Linked DNA regions of Homo sapiens: region 1 is linked to region 2. The links are contacts of gene promoters, found by promoter capture Hi-C in blood cells and fetal thymus (Javierre and others, 2016). All regions are on one chromosome and are shown on one strand. The core of a region is centred on a gene start or on the middle of the fragment in contact, and the rest is flanking DNA. Distances in the headings are between cores, read along the strand shown. Region 1 overlaps MRPL19 (mitochondrial ribosomal protein L19). Region 2 holds the start of GCFC2 (GC-rich sequence DNA-binding factor 2).

Region 1 (3,621 bases), core at 820-3,319, 60 kb before region 2:
TAAAACTATAGGCCGGGTGCGGTGGCTCACGACTGTTATCCCAGCACTTTGGGAGGCCGAGGAGGGCAGATCACGAAGTCAGGAGTTCGAGACCAGCCTGGCCAACATGGCGAAACCCCCATTTCTACTAAAAGTACAAAAAAAAAAAAAAATTAGCCAGGTGTGGTGGCATGTGCCTATAATCCCAGTTACTCGAGAGGCTGAGGCAGAAGAATTGCTTGAACACAGGATGCCGAGGTTGCAGTGAGCCGAGATCGTGCCACTGCACTCCAGCCTGGGCGATAGAGCAAGACTCTGTCTCAGAAAAAAACAAAAACAAAATTATACGAAACAATATATGTTGCCCAGACATACATGCATATGAAAAGTAAAAAGAAATGTAAGGGGGGCCTTCTGAAACTTTGCCAAACAGTCAAACCTAACTTTACCAGTATTGGTACCAGTTGATATTATGTGTCTCCTGATGTGACAGAATAAGTTGTTCACATCATCTCCCTGTAATATTCTTACTAAAATTATTTAACCTTAGTCTAGGCATGTGGAAACAATCCAGAATCCAGAGATGAGATAGTAGGCCTTGACTGTTCAAAAAAGTTAATGTTATAAAAATACAAAGTTGGAAAAAAGTCCTAGTCTGAGAGACTAATGACCAAATATGTGTGAAGCTTGATTGTATTTTGAATTGGGCAACGAATAGATGTAAAATACCTTCCCAGGATAATGACATACATTTGAGTATGAACTCTGTATTAGACCAAGCTTGTCCAACCCACAGCCCAGGACAGCTTTAAATGTGGCCCAACACAAATCTGTAAACTTTCTTAAAACATATGAGATTTTTTTTGTGCCTTTTTTTTTTAAGCTTACCAGCTATTGTTGGTGTCTTTTATGTGTGGCTCAAGATAATTCCTCCAGTGTGTCCCAGGGAAGCCAGATGATTGGATACCTTTGTATTAGATTATGTTATCAAATTAATGCTGACTTTTATAGGTGTCAGAAGGGTATCGTGATAATATAGGAGCAAGTCCTTATTCTTAGCATAAGCCTTCTAAATTATTGAGGGATGAAATGCCTTGCTGTTCCATTTTTTTGAGACAGAGCCTTGCTTTGTCATCCAGGCTGGAGTGCAGTGGCATGATCTTGGCTCTGCAACTCCTACTCCTGGGCCCCTCCCTACTCAGTCTCCCAAGTGGCTGGGACTACAGGTGCCCGCCACCATGCCTGGCTATTTTAAAAATTTTTTTGTTGTAGAATGAGGTCTCACTATGTTGCCTAGGCTGGTCTGGAACTCCTGGGCTCAAACGATCTACCCTCCTCGGCCTCCCAAGTGTTGGGATAACAGACGTAAGCTACCACACCTGGCTGACATTTTCAAATGGTTCAGAAAAAAATGATATGTGTATATAAAGCAAATATAGCAAAATTTTAGCAGTTGGTAAAAGTGGATGAAAGATCTACAGGTGTTCATTGTATTACTATTTTTTGGTAGGCTTTAAAATTTTCAAAGTAGAAAATTGAGGAAGAGAAAGAAATTCATGGGAATAATCACCAAATTTAGGATAGTAATGAACTATCCTAAATACACAGGGGCTTCCACAATATTGATAATTTATTTCTTGAGGTGGGTGGTAAAGACATGAATATTCATTGTACTGTCATTTATACTTTTTATGTAGATTAAATATTTCATAATGAGCTTAAAATCAGTTAAAGAAGAAAAAAAGAAGATTATTATTTTTTAAGCAAAAGGATTTCACCTTTGTAAGACTTACACAATTTTCACATAGCTTCATTTCTACAATCACAACAATCCTGAGGTAAACAGGCAGGGTCTAATCATTCTCTTTTTACAGAGGGAGAACCAGCAACTTAGGGAAATCAAAACGGGGACACTAACAGGATTTCTGTGGAAATTTAAGTAAATGAGAATTTATGGTGAATTTTTTATTCTAAAACGAATACCTCACCTTGGCCAAAATGGGACATTACCCAAGGTCCCCTACTAGGCCAGAGGAGAAAAGGAAGGACTTACCTCCTACAGAGGCACAAACAAGGCAGACTAGGACCCAGCAGTTGCCTAAGGCCCAAGGGTCTCCAGTTAGGAGAATGTGAAATGCAGGGATGTGAGACTGGCCTAAGGTATAGGAAGAGCGGTAAACAGAAGAGAAGAGACGAGGAGGGGGAAAAGCAAGAATTATTAAACGTGGTCAAGGAGCGAAGAGCACTATGAAGCCTCAGGATTTCTTCAAGGGATACTGCTGTGCCAGGTCTAGAGGGCAGAAAGATACAACCACGAGACCCCAGGACTACCAAGCTGATGGGATTACCTAGCCTCTGGACAGCACCTTCTGATTGGAAGCAAGGAAGCACACTAGAAAGGCTGCAGTACAGAAGGCTCAGAGACAGTCAGTAGGGAGTAGAAGGGCCTCTGCTGTTCTGGGAAGATTCTTACAGCATAAACAAGCTCTTACTGTGCCTAAGAGAAAGGGAGAGGGAGGCAAGGAATGTATCATGGCCTTAAGAACTTTCTAGAGGTTCATATTTATTGGCATTTGACCTAGAGTCCTTGCCATGGGCAAGGTGCATCCCTGGGCCATGGATAGGAAAATCAGCATCCTACTTTCTCTTCAGTTCGATCTGTTAATCCACCAACCCAAATCCCTCCCACCCGCACCTGTCATCCAAGGAAGAGAAAATGGTTCAGGGACACGATGTGCTGCAGCTGTGTCTCTGGATTTGTAGGTCTCTCCTCGACTTTTCAGCTCCTACACGATTCCTTGGGGCAGGTGACCAGTGAATGACACCGCATATGTACCTGGCTTAAAGTTACTGACTCGCTGCCACTTGGAGACCTAGCTGTCCTCTGGACTCATCATTGCAATGATTCCATCAAAGGAAGAGCTAGTGCAGTCATATACCATCTCAGTTACTCTTCGTCTGTAGATAGGTGTTACAGTTGTCAGAACCTTCATATTCAAACTGGTCTATAGTCTTGACCAGCAAACACAGCCAACAAGCCTGCAGATGCCCCAGGTCCTTCAGCACCATCTCCAGGGCCATCTTCTCTGATCAGGAAGATCATTTTAAAAGTCAATTTATAATTAGTGATTTATATGTTGATGTCTTTTCTGACATAATTTATTATAGCATGTATAGCTCAGTGTGAGGCCTGTAGTAATGGTTATAGGCTTTGGAGACTGACCAACATACCTACATTTAAATCTTGATTTGACAGATTTATAGCTAATGTAGCAATGGGTTAGTTATTTACCTTTTTCAAGCTTCAGTTTCTTGCTCTGTAAAAAGGAGATGACACCAAACCCACATGGTTGCTAGAAGGATTAATTTATGCTATAGATGTTTCATAAAGCTTTTAACAAAATACCAGGTGAGTACTCAGGAATTGTTAGCTATTTTCATGAGCATTAACAATTTTAGAAATAAGATTGACTTTTATTTAGACAATGAAGAATAAAATACATCAATATCATATTTAATTTCTTTGAAAAGCAACAATTTTTCTTCTAGCAGCCTTTTGAGTTTACTTTTAATTATTTATTTGTATTTTTTACAGGTTCTTGAGTCCTGAATTCATTCCTCGAAGGGGAAGAACAGATCCTC
Region 2 (3,291 bases), core at 339-2,838:
GTTTAACCAGAAAACAAATATAAAAGGTCATGAAAACTTTAGACAAATAGAAGGTCACAAGAAAGACCAAGAAATCACGAAGATCATAAACCTGGAGGACATTATGTTACATGAAATAAGACAGGCACAGAGAGACAAACACCACATGATCTCACATATGTAATCTAAAAAAGTGGAAATCAGAAATCACAGAAGCAGAGAGTCGAGTAGTGGTTAGAAGGGACTGAGTGAGGTTGAGGGTAGTTGGGAAGATACTGGTCAAAGGGCACACATTTTAATTAGACAAGAGGAATTCTATTCTACAACACGGTGACTAAAATTAATAACAATGCATTGCATACTTGAAAATTAGTAAGAGTAGATAGTAAGTGTTCTCACCACAAAAAAAAGTAAGTACCTAAGGTAAAGCAAATGTTAATTAGCTCCATTTAGTCACTGTAGACACATTTCAAACATCATGTTGTACACTATAAGTATATACATTTTTTACTTCTCAATAAATTAATAAAAATCACTTTAATGACAATAAAAAATAATAGGAAGATTTTAGCTCTCAAGACTAACCAAAAACCGTATTCCTCATTAAGCTACAATTCCAACTCAGAGCAGCACATTTTATTTAAACAACTTTATGCTGCCTTACACCTGTATTTAAGAACTCAAAGGTACTTCAAAATGACGACACTATATCTAACACCATTACTGGTACCATCTACAGTGTCATGAATCTCTATCATGCTTCTTTGTGTTGTATATATTACTATTAGTTTTTGCAAATAACTGGTGAAAAAAGAAAATAAACAAAGGGGAATGTCCCAAAACCTAGATTCCTGTACTACTCTGGCTAAATGTTTTCAAGAAAGATAAGTTGGTCAAGTGTCTAAAAGGTACATATAACTTCTGCCCACTTAATAGTATTATAAATTATTGAACTTTGTTGTGACAGTTTAGGTTCTTCATAAACTTTGATAACTGTGTTAGTTATAACTGATGGAGTCAACTGATGGTGAAAACGAAGAGCCTCCCAACTGTACACGATTGTTTTATTTCCCCCAAGGAGTCCAAAAGGCAGATGCAGATAGCGGGCAAGTGCTCGAGCTATTTTCTCGCTCACTACCTTCTGGATAAGTCTTTCTGGATAAGACTCAGCATGGCTTGTGGTCGGCAGCAAGTTATAGAACCCCCAGAGAAGGATCCAGAGACCCCGCGGCCCCTTCCCGCCCTGTGCCGTCACCTCCCCGCTTCCCCGCGTCTCCCTGGACACCTGAGCCTTCGTCCGCGCGGGGAGCCGCTTTGGTGGCACGCCGGGAGCTCGCCCAGACCCGGCCCCGGCCACGAGGGCCCCGAACCCGGTGGGGCAGTCCCGCCACCTGCGCGCGGCCTCCTCCAGAGGGCGGCTCTTCCTCCGCAGAACCCGGGACCGGAAGTTCCCTCGGCGCCCCAGGCTCAGCAGGCGACTCCTCGGCGCCATCGCTGTCGCTGGAATCAGCCGCGCGCTGCCGAAAAGTCCTTTTCGGCCTGTGAGCCATGGCCGAGGCCCGAGCGCCCGGCGCCCTAGAACCCGCTGAACCGCAAGCCGCAGCTTCAGTGCCCGCCCCCTAGGGCGCGCTCCCGCCGCGCCTGGCCGCCGAGTGCGCGCGCCCGTCCCGCCTGCCTTCTGCTCACCGCTACTCTGTCTGCGCCTGCGTGCTTTGGCTCCCTGGATCTGGTAGGCCGAGTTCTGTTCTGGGGCCTGAGTTTGCAAAGCATTCCCTTTGCCAGGTTAGGTTGCGTGGACTGACACCTTAGAGATTTTCACGGCCTATCCGGTCTGAGTCCCACGGAGAGCAGAACTCACGTGCTGTCCTTGTGCAAACCCCATCCAGAAATCAAGCGTTATGCTTTCCGTCCTGGACTGGAGCCAGATCCGTTGTCTTTTACTTTCTGGAGAGAGTGCCCCCTCCAACCAAGATTTAAAACAAACGAAACCCCAGCAGTGTGAGGCTCGGGGTAGGAGGAGATGCCTTTGAGAACAAAACCATAAAGTCTGTACATAAACAATGCATACAGACTAGCAAAAATCAAATGACTTCCCCCAGGCAGCAGGGCTTCAAGAGAGCCTGGTTAAATGTTTTCACCCTTAAAGAAACTATCTAAAAACAAAAAGCTATTGTCTGACGCAAATTTGTTCTATATTCATCAAGCTCTGTCTACTACTGTATCTGTATGGTAGAAATACTATATAATGTTGAGCTACTGCACACCTGTTATCAACTCCATGTTTAGTGGCGTCATATTGAGAGGTGACAGCGGGCCAGCTGGAGTTCCGGGTGGGCATGGGCTTGGCGGGCCTGCACTCGGAGCAGCCGGCCGGCCCTGCCAGCCCCGGGCAGTGAGGGACTTGGCACCCGGGCCAGCGGCTACAGAGGGTGTACTGGGTCCCCTAGCAGTGCCGGCCCACCGGCGCTGTGCTCGATTTCTCGCCGGGCCTTAGCTGCCTTCCCGCGGTGCAGGGCTCGGGACCTGCAGCCCGCCATGCCTGAGCCTCCCATCCACTCCATGGGCTCCTGTGCTGCCCGAGCATCCCCGACGAGCACCACCCCCTGCTCCACGGCGCCCAGTCCCATCGACCACCCAAGGGCTGAGGAGTACGAGCGCACGGCGCCGGACTGGCAGGCAGCTCCACCTGCAGCCCCGGTGCGGGATCCACTAGGTGAAGCCAGTTGGGCTCCTGAGTCTGGTGGGGACATAGAGAGTCTTTATGTCTAGCTCAGGGATTGTAAATACACCAATCAGCACTCTGTATCTGGCTCAAGGTTTGTAAACACACCAATCAGCACCCTGTGTTTAGCTCAAGGTTTATGAGTGCACCAATCGACACTCTGTATCTAGCTGCTCTGGTGGGGCCTTGGAGAACCTTTATGTCTAGCTCAGGGATTGTAAAAACACCAATCGGCACTCTGTATCTAGCTCAAGGTTTGTAAACCCACCAATCAGCACCCTGTGTTTAGCTCAAGGTTTGTGAGTGCACCAATAGACATTCTATCTAGCTGCTCTGGTGAGGCCTTGGAGAACCTGTGTGTGGAAACTCTGTATCTAACTAATCTGATGGGGATGTGGAGAACTTTTGTATCTAGCTCAGGGATTGTAAACGCACCAATCACGGCCCTGTCAAAACAGGCCGCTGGGCTCTACCAATCAGCAGGATGTGGGTGGGGCCAGATAAGAGAATAAAAGCAGGCTGCCCCAGCCAGCAGTGGCAACCCGCTCCGGTCCCCTTCCACAGTGTGGAAGCTTTGTTCTTTCGCTCTT

What was found. The method cuts DNA at HindIII sites, captures the fragments that hold promoters and counts their contacts. A CHiCAGO score of 5 or more calls a contact.
Region 1: a contact is called between a fragment that was not itself captured here and the fragment with the promoter of GCFC2 in region 2, in 3 of 17 cell types (non-activated CD4 T cells, activated CD4 T cells and total CD8 T cells). The highest score is 6.2, in non-activated CD4 T cells.

The regions. Positions count from the first base shown.
Region 1 is chr2:75,648,568-75,652,188 of GRCh38, forward strand. MRPL19 (mitochondrial ribosomal protein L19) reads left to right here. Exons shown (of 6, transcript NM_014763.4): 3 at 3,575-3,621. It also overlaps the pseudogene SUPT4H1P1. Among named protein-coding and RNA genes, the nearest start is that of MRPL19, 3.6 kb to the left of the region's middle. The HindIII fragment of the contact is 2,419 bases long and covers 861-3,279 here.
Region 2 is chr2:75,709,327-75,712,617 of GRCh38, forward strand. It overlaps GCFC2 (GC-rich sequence DNA-binding factor 2), which reads right to left and starts at 1,589. Exons shown (of 17, transcript NM_003203.5): 1 at 1,265-1,589. The coding sequence starts at 1,529. It overlaps LOC105374813 (a long non-coding RNA gene), which reads left to right and starts at 1,613. Exons shown (of 3, transcript XR_940260.2): 1 at 1,613-1,708. RefSeq lists a silencer at 1,121-1,420 and an enhancer at 2,399-2,970. The HindIII fragment of the contact is 8,873 bases long and covers 1-3,271 here.